Regions from separate parts of the Homo sapiens genome. Here region 1 is linked to region 2. The links are contacts of gene promoters, found by promoter capture Hi-C in blood cells and fetal thymus (Javierre and others, 2016). All regions are on one chromosome and are shown on one strand. The core of a region is centred on a gene start or on the middle of the fragment in contact, and the rest is flanking DNA. Distances in the headings are between cores, read along the strand shown.

Region 1 (6,283 bases), core at 175-2,674, 87 kb after region 2:
GTATCTGATGAGTACTTTCCCAGGGTATTTCCCTGGTGTGTTAATTTCTGATGTCCCAAGTGGGCCATCTCAGGTTGAGGAGTATGGTAGAGGTGGGGGGAAGAAAGACTTGGGAGTAGGGGAGGAGTTATAGAATAGAATACAGCAAAAGCTGAGGGATTAAATGAAAGTGGATGCAACTTGGATAAAGAAAATGTGGCATATATACCCTAGAATACTATTCAGCCTTAGGCAAGAAGGAAACTTCTGTCATTTCTGATAATATGGATGAACTTGGAGGACATTATACTAAGTGAAATAAGCCAGGCACAAAAACACAAATACTGCATGATCTCATTTATATGTGGGATCTGAAACAGTTGAACTCACTCGTAGAAGTAGAGAGTGAAATGTTGGTTACTAGAGGCTGGGGGCAGTAGGCGTTGGGATTGGGAAAGGGGAGATGTTGGTCAAAGGGTACAAAGTTTCAGTTAGACAGGAGGGGTAAGTTTTAGTGATCTATTGCAGCAGTCCCCAGTTTTTTTGGCACCAGGGACTGGTTTCATGGAAGACAATTTTTCCATAGATGGTGGGCGGGGGATGGTTTCAGGATGAAACTGTTCCACCTTAGATCATCAGGCATTAGTTAGAGTCTCATAAGGGGCATGCAACCTAGATCCCTCACATGCACGGTTCACAATGGGGTTCGCCCTCCTATGAGAATCTAATGCTGCTGCTGGTCTGACAGTAGGCGTTGCTCAGGCAGTAATGCTTGCTCGCTCACCTTCTGTGTGCCCTGTTCCTAACAGGCCACTGACCTGTACAGGTGCATGGCCCCAGGGGTTGGCGACCCCTTATTATACTTAATGTATATTTCAAAATTGCTAAAAGAGTATATTTTATTTTATTTTATTTTATTTATTCGTCCCCCCCCCCCCCGCAAATGGAGTCTTGCTCTGTCGCCCAGGCTGGAGTGCAGTGGTGCCATCTTGGCTCACTGCAACTTCCGCCTCCTGGGTTCAAGCCATTCTCCTGCCTCAGCCTCCCAAGTAGCTGGGATTACAGGCACAGGCCACCACACCTGGCTAATTTTTGTAGTTTTAGTAGAGACGGGGTTTCACCATGTTGGCCAGGCTGGTCTCAAACTTCTGACCTCAAGTGATCTGTCCACCTTGGCCTCCCAAAGTGCTGGGATTACAGGCATGAGCCACTGCGCCTGTTGTAGAGTAGATTTTAAGTGTTTTCACCATTAAAAAAAATATGTGAGGTGATGGATATGTTAGTTTGATTTAATCATTCCACAACGTATACATATAACGAGACATTGTACCCCATAAATACATAAAATTATTACTTGTCAAAAATAAAGTAACATTTAAAATAAATAACAGTGTATCCTGAGCCTGAAACCGTATTAAAACCCAGAACTAGGCCGGACGTGGTGGCTCACGCCTGTAATCCCATCACTTTGGGAAGCCGAGGTGGGCAGATCACCTGAGGTTGGGATTTCGAGACCAGCCTGTCCAACGTGGTGAAACCCCATCTCTACTAAAAATACAAAAATCAGCCAGGTGTGGTGGCGCACACCTGTAATCCCAGCTACTCGGGAGGCTGAGGCAGGAGAATCACTTGAACCCAGAGGTTGCAGTGAGCTGAGATTGCACCATTGCACTCCAGCCTAGGCAACAACAGCGAAACTTCGTCTCAAAAAAAAAAAAAAAAAAAAAAAAAAAGAAAAACAAAAAACCCAGAATTATTCAATTCCTTTCCCTGCTGCCATGCAGGTTGCACTAAGGAGCCGAGTGAAGTAGGGATACTGACCAATATCTGTCCAGCTCTGTTGACCCTGTGTTGTCTATGTATTTGTAGAGAACCTAGCTGGTAAGCCAGCCCTGCAAATCCCCAGTTCTCGAGCTGCTGCCCCAAGGCCTCCAGTATCTGCCGCCAGCGGGCGTCCTCAGGATGATACAGACAGCAGCCGGGCCTCACTCCCAGAACTGCCCCGGATGCAGAGACCCTCTTTACCGGACCTCTCTCGGCCTAATACCACCAGCAGTACGGGCATGAAGCACAGCTCCTCTGCCCCTCCCCCACCACCCCCAGGGCGGCGTGCCAACGCACCCCCCACACCTCTGCCTATGCACAGCAGCAAAGCCCCCGCCTACAACAGAGAGAAACCCTTGCCACCGACGCCTGGACAAAGGCTTCACCCTGGTCGAGAGGGACCTCCTGCTCCACCCCCAGTCAAACCACCTCCTTCCCCTGTGAATATCAGAACAGGACCAAGTGGCCAGTCTCTGGCTCCTCCTCCTCCGCCTTACCGCCAGCCTCCTGGGGTCCCCAATGGACCCTCTAGCCCCACTAATGAGTCAGCCCCTGAGCTGCCACAGAGACACAATTCTTTGCATAGGAAGACACCAGGGCCTGTCAGAGGCCTAGCACCTCCTCCACCCACCTCGGCCTCCCCATCTTTACTGAGTAATAGGCCACCTCCCCCAGCCCGAGACCCTCCCAGTCGGGGAGCAGGTAAGTGCTTGGAAGCACCTTTTTCCCTATCATGCTGTGAGTTGATTTTATCTTTCCCCAGAGCACTCCTTGAAGACAGTAATTCGTTTATTCACTCAGTGGGTTTATTGAGTACCTTTTTATGTGTCAGGTCTGTTGGTAGGGAAATAGCAATAAATAGAAAAGACAAAAAAATTTGACAGTCAAACTAGTAAAATATATAAATACATAGTATGCAGTATGCTTTAGAGAATTACAAAGCAGAGGAGAGGAATAAGATATACTGGGGCGGAGGTCGGGATGATGATATCTTTAATTGGAGGAGTGGGGAGAGAGTCAGGACAGTCCTTACTGATACGGTGAAAATTTGACAAAGACCTTAAGAAAGTGACGAGTAAGCTTAGTAGTTATCTAGGAGAACAGCTGTTGCAGGCAGTGGGAACAACAAATGCAGAGGCCATAAGGCAGAAGTATTCTTGAAACATTTTGGGGACAGCAAGGGGGCCATTGTGGCAAGACTACAAAGAGTGAGGGGAGGGAAGAGTGGTAGGACTTGGAGGTTGGAAAGCTGGAGCTGCAGGGGAGAGCGCACTGCAGGATTTTGCAAAGACCTTGGATTTAACTGTGTGAGATGGGAAGCCACTGGAGGGTTTTAAACAGAGAAGTAGTATGATTTGATTCACCTTTTAAAAAGATCATTAACTCCTATGTTGAGAACAGACCGCAGGAGGACAAAGGTGACAAAAGGAGACCAGTTACTGGGCTGTTGCAGTAAACGGCCAGATGGTTAGGACTACTGTGAATTTGTGGGAAGATAGGTGTTCAGTTTGAGACAAGTTTGAGATGCCTGTTAGGTAATCAAGAAGAGACAATGAATTGGTAATTGGCTATCAGACTCCAAAGTTGAGGGGAGAGGTTTCGGCTAGAGAGATACATTTGAATGGTGTTGAAAACCACATGCTGGATGAAGTCACCTAAGGAGTGAATATAGATAAGAAGAGGCCTAGGAGGCTGAGGCAGGAGAATCGCTTGAACTCAGGAGGCAGAGGTTGCAGTGAGCCGAGATCACGCCACTGCACTCCAGCCTGGGCGACAGAGTGACAGTCCATCTCAAAAAAAAAAAAAAAAAAAATGAGGGCTGAGCCCTCGCCCTCCTACATTAGAGGCAAAAGAGATGAAGAATACCCAGCAGAGGAAACAGAAAAGCTTCTAGTGAGGATGGAAGGAGAAAAACCAAGAATGTGATGGAAAAACTCCAAGGTAGAGTAAGTGGTCAGCTGTGCCCAGTGCTGCAGATGGGTCAGGTAAGTTAAAGACCAAGAACTGGCATTGGTCTTAGTATCATGGGACCCTTTTGAGTAGTTTCAGTGGAGTGGTGGAGGGTGAAAGTGAAAGCTTAATTGGAGTGGGTTCAAGAATGCAGGAATAGGAGGAGAGAAATTGGAGATAGCAATATAGAAATCTCTTAAAGAGTTCGCTGTAAAGTCCAGGAGAGAGGGGTGAAGATAAGTGAAGTGATTGTTGGACGAAGATGTGGGGTTGAGAGTTGTTTTTTTCCCATCCCAAGATGGGAGACCTATTTGTATGCTGATGGAATGAGTAGCATGAAACTTAGGAGAGAGGGAAAAAATTGAATCAGAAGAGAGGGAACAGATTGCCTGAATAATGACCTGGAGGAGGCCAGAGAAAAGAGAATGTGATCGATAGATAAAAAGGGTTGGCCTTAGATAGGAACATAGTTCTTCCATAGTAACAAGAGGGGAGGCAGAGCATATAGGCTTAGAAGCAAGTGGGTAGGTGGGTGTAGTGGTAGAAGCATGTGGAAAGTTTATTCTAATTTGCTTCTGTTTTCTCAGTGAAATGGAAAGCAAGAGCATCAGCTGTGATTGAGGCGAGGGAAGGAGAAGGAGAGTTGAGGAGAGAGAAGAGGCATGAAATGGTCATCTGGAGCGTGGGAGTGTGGGTGGACTAGGGAAGTGTGCTCAGATAGGCAACCACGCGAAGGGCCCACTTGAGATTATGGGCCATACATTTCATGTGAGATTAATTAGTCTCATGTGTTCAGTTGTGATTTGCAGGTACAGAAAAAGAGTAGAGCTGTGTTTAACCAGCGTTAGCATGTTTTAGGCATGTGCGACTCTAAGGGAGAGTGGGGCAGGAAGGGAAGGGTGTATGTGAGGGAGTGATTGCAATAATGGAGCCTAAGCTGGGTGAGGAGGGAATTTAGGAACCCTGGAAAAAGAAGAGGTTGTGTAATCTCGTTATAATTAGCATAACTGAAATTTTAGAGTGAGGGAGACCGTGACAGCTCTCTGGGGCCTTATTGGACATGGGAATTTTGGCTCCCATATCGTTGTATCATTAGACTTTGAGACATACCCTCCACAAACAGCTTCTTGGCCTTTATTTATTTATTTGTTTGTTTGTGTTTTGAGACAGAGCCTTGCTCTTTCGCCCAGGCTGGAGTGCAGTGGTGCAATCTCTGCTCATTGCAACCTCTTCCTCCCAGGTTCAAGTGATTGTTGTGTCTCAGCCTCCTGACTAGCTGGAATTACAGGCATGTGCCACCATATCTGGCTAATTTTTGTATTTTTAGTAGAAACGGGTTTTCGCCGTGTTGGCCAGGCTGGTCTCAAACTCCTGACCTCAAGTGAGCCACTGCGCCCAGCCCTTAGCTTTTATTTTAAAGTCAGTTTCTACAGGTATAGAACATTGATTAAGGAGTTATGTCATGGAGTCTGGGCATGATGGCTCACGCCTTAATCCCAGCACTTTGGAAGGTTGAGGCCAGCAGATCATTTAAGCCCAGGAGTTCGAGACCAGCCTGGGCAACATGGCAAAACCCTGTCTCTACAAAAAATAATTTTAAAAAATTAGCCTGGCATGGCGGTGCATGCCTGTAGTCCCAGCTACTTGAGTGGCTGAGGTGGGAAGACCACTTGAGCCTGGGAGGTGGAGGCTGCAGTGAGCTGTATTAGTGCCACTGCACTTCAGCCTGGGCAACACAGCAAGACGTTGTCCCAAAAAAAGGGTAAAGGTTATATCATTAAGTAGCAAGGCATTAAAAGTCCATTAACCTGTGTGCAGCTTCTTTGTTCAGTACATACAGATTTGTACTCTAGCAGCTGGCCATCTAACATAGGGCAGCCAAACAGTGGCCTACTGCATTCCTGATCCCATATCTCCCTAGCTTTAGCCATAATGAGGTAGTGCTAAGGTGGCCCTTGATTCTATAAAGTTCAGGTTTGACTTTTTTTTTAACTTAGGGATTTTACAAAAGACTCTTTGTCTGAGCAAAGCTCATATCTTTCTGACCTCATCCAGGAATAGAAGAAGAGAAAAATGCAATTTCCGTGGGTTGAGCTGAGCACTTTTAAATGTCTGCAGGCTTTCTTGCTTCCCACTTTTCCATTCTTTCTCTGTGGTAGCTAGGACTACAGGAGTGTTGCCACCATGTCTGGCTCATTAAAATTTTTTTTTATTTTTATTTTTTAAGATGAGGTCTGTGTTGCCCAGGCTGGACTCAAACTCTTGGGCTCAAGCCATCCTCCCACCTTGGCCTCCCGAAGCCCTGGGATTACAGATGTGAGCAATTGTACCTGGCTAGAGCAGCAATTCTTAAGAGTGATAAACCAGAAAAAAATTGAGATATTTTAGTCAGAGATCATTTGAGTATTGCCTCGATTTGTTGTGTGACATTGGACAGATCACTGATTCTCTTTTCTCACCGATTCTCTTTTCTCACCTGTAAAATGTACATTTGAAAAGTACAGTGGGGGTCAGGGACACAGGCTCACAC
Region 2 (6,584 bases), core at 2,361-4,860:
ATTGCCCAGGCTGGAGTGCAATGGCACAATCGTGGCTCACTGCAGCTTTGACCACCTGGGCTCAATCAATCCACCCACCTCAGCCTCTCAAGTAGCTGAAACCACAAGCATGCACCACCACACCTAGCTAATTTATTTTTGTAGAGATAGGGTCATTGAATTCCTGGGCTCAAGTGATCCCGCTGTCTGGGCTTCCCAAAGTGCTGGGATTACAGGCTTGAGCTGCTGTGCCCAACTATTGTACATCTTATAAAGACAGATGGGACTTCCCCCATATCTTGGTGCTGGTGCCACAGCCAGAGGACTGTGACTTTTCTGAGCCCCGTCCCTAATTCCTTTTTTTTTTTTAGACTGAGTCTCACTCTGTCGCCCAGGCTGGAGTGCAGTGGCACGATCTCGGCTCACCACAACCTCCACCTCCCGGGTTTAAGCGATTCTCCTGCCTCAGCCTCCCAAGTAGCTGGGGTTTACAGGCGCCCGCCACCATGCCCCACTACTTTTTTTCTGTATTTTTAGTAGAGATGGGGTTTCACCATGTTGGCCAGGCTGGTCTCAAATTCCTGGCCTCAGGTGATTGGCTCAGCTTGGCCTCCCAAAGTTCTGGGATTACAGGCGTGAGCCACCACGCTGGGCCCCTAATTCCTCTTTAAATCATGTCAGTTTGCTTCTCTTCCCCACAATGTGATGGGTGACTGTAGGCCTGATCTCCTGGGGTTATGAAAAAATGCCATCCAGCCTTGGGGGTGGGTTACTGGCAGGAGGTTTGAGTGTTGGATGCTTCCCCTTTACCCTTGCCTCTTGCTTCCCTAGTCCTTCAGTTAGACCCTATTGCTCTCTCTGTTGCCCTGGTAACCAGCTCTGCAAGAAGAAACTCAAGCTCAGCAAAGCCCCCAGGTTCTCTCTATCCTCCCAGCCTGCCTCTGGGTGGGCAGAAAGAAGAGGGTGTGTAAGCAGCAGACAGATAGCCTGAGGTGGCCCTGCCCAGTCCCCTTGTAGAAGCCCATGGGCTCAAAAAAAGCTCAAAGCTTTTTCGCCCCCATCTCATAGTTGTTATTCATACCACCCTGCCTTCCTCTTTATTTCTTCCATAAGCGGGTGCAAATGCTCTGCCAGCTCTCTTCCCCTTCAGGGTCAGCGCACAGACCTGCTACCTTGTAGGCAACTCGGAGCACCAAAGACTTGGAATTCCAAAGTCAGCTCCCAGCATCTGCAGCCCACTTGGGTTGACTGTCCGTCTAGGGCAGTGATTTTCAATCCTGGCCATTTGTGTCATGTGAGGAGCTTTTTAAAAAATACCATAAGCCTTCGCCCTGGTTCAGAAATCTGATTTAATTGGTCTGAGATATGGCCTAGGCATCAGTTTTTTTTTTGTTTGTTTGTTTTTTTTTTTTTTGAGACAGTCTTGCTCTTGTTGCCCAGGCTGGAGTGCAGTGGCATGATCTCGGCTCACTGCAGCCTCCACCTCCCGGGTTCAAGCGATTCTCCTGCCTCAGCCTCCTGAGTAGCTGAGATTACAGGCACCAGCCACCATGCCCAGCAAATGTTTGTATTTTTAGTAGAGACAGGGTTTCACTATGTTGGCCAGACTGGTCTCGAACTTCTGACCTCATGTTGCACCCTTCTCGGCCTCCCAAAGTACCGGGATTATAGGCGTGAGCTGTTGCACTTGGCCAGTATTTTTTTTTTTTTTTTAATATGGAGTCTCTCACCCAGGCTGGAGTGCAGTGGCATGATAACAGCTCACTGCAACCTTCACCTCCCAGGTTCAAGCAATCCTTCTACCTCAGCCTCCAAAGTAGCTTGGATTACAGGTGTGTGCCACCATGCCCGGCTAATTTTTTTTGTATTTTTAGAAGTGGGGTTTCACCATGTTGGTCAGGCTGGTCTTGAACTCATGACCTCAAGTGATCTGCCCGCCTTGGCTTCCCAAAGTGTTGAGATTACAGGCGTGAGCCACCAAGCCCAGCCAGCATCAGTATTTCTGAGAAGCTTCCCTGTGATTCCAGTGTGTAGTCAGGGTGAAAACCACTGCCACTCCAGGAGGACCATGACTTGATGCTGGCTCTCCTCACTGATTCAAAATGTTGAACTTAGTCTCTGCCTGACATCCTTGAGCATTTGGGGGAGTACTGGGGTCCTGTGTCCCAAGCTTCTAGCTTCCAGAAGTCTCTCAGTCTGTTTTATTTTCAACCCCCTACACCCTTCACACTCCCCAATTCGCCCTTCCTAACCAACAATTCCCAAATCCTGCCCAGAGAGAAGGTTACCAAGGCAACCGGCTTAATCTGGTAACTGTGGCATGTGCTGGGAGAGAAGCCCTTCCCTCTTCCTATTCAGTTCATAAAATGCTACCTGGGGAGCTCCAACCCATTCCAGCCACTTTCCCCTTTCAAGCCAGGGGATATTGGAGTGTCCAATAAGGGGAGCACAGGAAGCTGATACTCAGACCTCTAATACAGCTTCTTAGCCAAAATTGTGCGCTGTCTTCTTTTTACTGTTTCCAAATCCACAAACAGATGGGTGTGCAAAGCTTTATTTCTGTGAACACATGCTCTAGCACACATGGGAACAGATATGCACATACATTGATACGTATGTCATACACACCCTGTTCAGTTTTACTACCACTCCCAGCCATTAGCATTCCTGTCTCTGCCTGGTTGGTGCTCGGTAAACAGGGGTGGGGCATTGTCCAGAGAGCCTCAACCCATCGAGAACCTGCTGCCACTCCCACACCTTGTAAGTCTAACCTGGATGTTCTCACACTTAGCATGGCTTTACGATGCACCCCCCTCCTCCCCCACACTCCTTCTGGGGCAGCATATCCTTAAGGACAGAATGCTCCTGGTGTGGGCATCAGGAGTAAGGATTACTTGGAGTGCTAATTGGCACCACTTTTCCCACTCCATGGCCATGTACACTTGGGCTCTGTGCTTGATGATAGTCGGCAGTTCTGGGGCTTGTCACCTGTCTCCATGGCCCTGCTTCCTTCTGCTGCCAGCTGGGCTCAGGTGCCCTTGTGCTCCTGGTCTCCTCCCCACTGCCTATTATCCCCTCCTCACCCCAGCTAGACCTGCCACAACCTGCTGCTCCCTGCCTGGCTCCTACCTGCCTGCCAGTACCTGCCCACAGACCAGGCCCACACCACCTATTGTGCCCTACCAGAGAGGACAGATGGGCACCGCCTCCAGTGGCAATGCTAATTCACCCAAGAGGCCTTCCCAGCTCTTCTCACAGAAGGAAGATAAACTCCACATATTTCTGTGAGTATGAGAAAGGTGCACACTCTTGGGTTCAGCAATCTGTAGGCCTGACTTGGGTACACAGGTAGGTGAGTGAAGGTGTCCAGGCCACAGACCTGTCCTGACTCTTTGAAATGATGCTGAGACCCGGTTATCCCTTGAGCCAGGAATCCTTCCCCATTGGTAAATCTCTGACTTACCTTTGCCCTTAATTTCTTCTGCTTAGAACCCAAGTCCCTTACTGTTTCCCTCGCGGTCAACCCCAGCGCGCGAGTTCAAGCCTCGTGCGGCGCGGGGGCGAGCCGAGGAAGGGTAGGGGCGGGGACTGGGCGGGGACTGGAGGAGGGGGCGCGGTCTCGGTTCTGCCACCTTCCCCCTCTTCACGGCCAGGAGCGCAGCCGCCGCCGCCGCCGCCGCCGCGTCCTCTCAGCCTTGCGCTCCGCCCGCTGCCTCTGCCGCCGCAGCGCAGAGCCGGGCGCACCGGCCCCGCAGCCTGCCCACTCTTCGGGCCGCGTGCCGGCTGCAGCCGGCATGGGGGGTTGCTGAGAGCGAGCACTCCTTTCCTCTGGCACCTCCCCCGGCTACTGGCCACTGGACTCTGGCCAGCGAGGCTCGGCCCCTCTGGCCCCCAGTCTGGCGCCTGGCACGGCCCTCTACTCTGCTCCTCCAGCTCTGAGCATCGTGTCTTCGCCGCCCCCCCCGCCCGCGCCTGGGATACCTGGGTCCCCCGGCGACCCCTAGGAGAGGGGCGGGGGGGGGCATGAAGCCGCTGGAGAAATTTCTGAAGAAGCAGACGTCGCAGCTGGCGGGCCGAACGGTGGCGGGAGGTCCCGGCGGGGGTCTGGGGAGCTGCGGTGGGCCTGGAGGGGGTGGGGGACCCGGCGGGGGCGGCGGTCCAGCCGGGGGACAGCGGTCGTTGCAGCGGCGTCAGAGCGTGTCTCGCCTGCTGCTCCCCGCTTTCCTCCGGGAGCCCCCCGCCGAGCCGGGGCTGGAGCCGCCCCCTGAGGAGGAAGGAGGAGAGCCGGCGGGGGTCGCGGAGGAGCCGGGCAGCGGGGGGCCCTGCTGGCTGCAGCTGGAGGAGGTGCCGGGGCCCGGGCCTCTCGGGGGAGGGGGGCCCCTGCGCTCCCCTTCCTCCTACTCATCTGACGAGCTGTCCCCAGGCGAGCCCTTGACTTCGCCGCCCTGGGCCCCTCTGGGCGCCCCCGAGCGGCCCGAGCATCTTCTGAACCGGGTTCTGGAGCGGCTTGCTGGAGGGGCTACCAGGGACAGCGCCGCCTCAGGTAAGGAGCCGGTGGGCTCGAACACCCAGAGCAGGGGCTGGCCCCGGCTCCTCTTCCTTGCCCTTGGAGCGTAGGGGTGGCGCCGTGCCGGGGCTTGGTTATAGGGTTGAGTGGTCCGCGGAAGCCGGCTAGGGGCCTAGCGGAGGTACAGACCCTCCCGCGGAAGAGGAGAGCAGTACTCACCTTCCTCCCTACAGCAGCCTCACCCTCGTCTGGAGAAGCAGCTGAGCCTCTTACTCTCCTTCAGCCACCCTTCCTTTCCCCTGGGCATTGGAGCCACTGACTCCCATGGGTCCCTGATGTTGAATACCTCCTCCTGTGGCCCCAAATTAGGGCCTGACACATTAAAATGGGAGCTGCCCAGCGCAGCCATGCCACCCGCCAGAGGTGCTTTAGCCCTGAAAACCCTGGGGTCCCTGACTGTTCAGAGGCCTACACAGCGCAGGCTGACCCACCCAGGGAGGCAGTGCCAGACAGGCACAGGCCCCAAGCTGCCTTTTAGGCATCAGCAAAGGGATGCGTTGTCCTTAGCAGTTTGGTGGGGGGGATAGTATTCTCCTTGGGCTGGACTCAGAAGGTGTCTGGGAGGGGAGAGGTGGCTGGGCCGGCATCATGGCCCTGCAGCATCCAGGGTGTCCAAGCGCCTCCAGCTTCCACCCTTCGGTGGCAGGCCTCAGCACCCGGCTTTTTTTTTTTTTTCTTTTGGAGATGTAGTCTCACTGTCACCCAGGCTGGAGTGCAGTGGCGCCATCTCAGCTCACTGCAACCTCCACCGCCCAGGTTCAAGCGATTCTCCTGCCTCAGCCTCCTGAGTAGCTGGGACTACAGGCATGTGGCACCACGCCTGGCTAATTTTTGTATTTTTAGTAGAGACAGGGGTTTCACCGTGTTAGCCAGGATGGTCTCGAACTCCTGACCTCGTGATCCACCTGCCTTGGCCTCCCAAAGTGCTGGGATTACAGGCGTGAGCCACTGGCCTGGCTAATTTTTGTAGTTTTAGTAGAGACGGGGTTTCGGGGTTTCACCAACTTGGTCAGGCTGGTCTTGAACTCCTGACCTCGTTATCTACCTCCCCCCACCCCCACCCCACGGCCTCCCAAAGTGCTGGGATTACAGGCGTGAGCCACCGGACCTGGCACACGGCCTCTTTAAAATATAATCACCACACCCTGAGAAGCTTATTCCCTAAATGATGATACTATTTCACCACTCCCTTTCAGCACCCCTACTAAGGGGCCTTTGAGGAAACCAAGGCCCCAAATCTGGTTAGTTCTGAGGTAGAAGACCGAGGGTTCTTTAGGTCTAGCTCTAGGCATTACTCTAAGCCCAGGAGGGTCTGAGGTTTGGGAGCCCCGGCTGAGGCCCTAATGGTGAGGGCTTTCACACTTGCTCTCAGCCCTCGGCAGGGAACCCCAACCTAGATGTGTGGAGGGGGGCTCCACTCTCCTAGATCCTTCTCAAGACCTGGGTCCTCTCCTTTGGAGCAGGCTGTAGTTGCCCTGGGGAGCTGACACCTTTTGGATTTAATTAGAAAAATATCAGACACACACAGCTCTCCTAACCATAACTTCCCGCCTACACCACACACCCTGTGTCTCTATGACACATTCCCTAGGGAGGCTGTACATTGGCCCAGAGCCTGCTTTGGAAAAGACAGATGCCCAACTGTGGCCCCCATATCAGCATCTCCCCAACTCTGCCCCATCTTACTCTTCCTTTGCTCCAGCTTAGGAATCCTGTGAGATAAAGTCTATGAAGGATGTCAGGCCTCTCGTTTCCTCACCCTCATCCCTGAAGCTGGGGGTCAGAGCTGGAGGCTCTCTGACTCATTGTAAGAACACAGCAGGGTAGCTGGGCAGGGAGGAAAAGGGAGAAGCTGTCTTTCCCCTTTTACAGGGGCCTGGTGCCACACGCTCCGCTCATTCTCCCCTGGGGTAAGACTCCTGAAATGTCACCCATGTTATCTGGCAGCCTGGATCCCCAGAGTAACTAGTTTGGGAAATTCCAAACCAGTCCCAGGTGAATGAGAATCAGCTTAACCTGCCACTCTGATGTTCTCCAA

What was found. Contacts are between HindIII fragments. The CHiCAGO score rates a contact against its expected background, and 5 or more counts as called.
Region 1: a fragment that was not itself captured here is called in contact with the fragment with the promoter of RAPGEFL1 in region 2 in 1 of 17 cell types (erythroblasts); the score reaches 5.3 in erythroblasts.

Annotation. Positions count from the first base shown.
Region 1 is chr17:40,262,642-40,268,924 of GRCh38, forward strand. It overlaps WIPF2 (WAS/WASL interacting protein family member 2), which reads left to right. Exons shown (of 8, transcript NM_133264.5): 5 at 1,849-2,505. Among named protein-coding and RNA genes, the nearest start is that of CDC6, 22 kb to the right of the region's middle. The HindIII fragment of the contact is 2,914 bases long and covers 1-2,881 here.
Region 2 is chr17:40,173,860-40,180,443 of GRCh38, forward strand. It overlaps RAPGEFL1 (Rap guanine nucleotide exchange factor like 1), which reads left to right and starts at 3,611. Exons shown (of 15, transcript NM_016339.6): 1 at 3,611-4,522. The coding sequence starts at 4,003. RefSeq lists enhancers at 2,490-2,990, 2,991-3,491, 3,883-4,739, 4,740-5,594 and a silencer at 3,523-3,652. The HindIII fragment of the contact is 3,169 bases long and covers 2,529-5,697 here.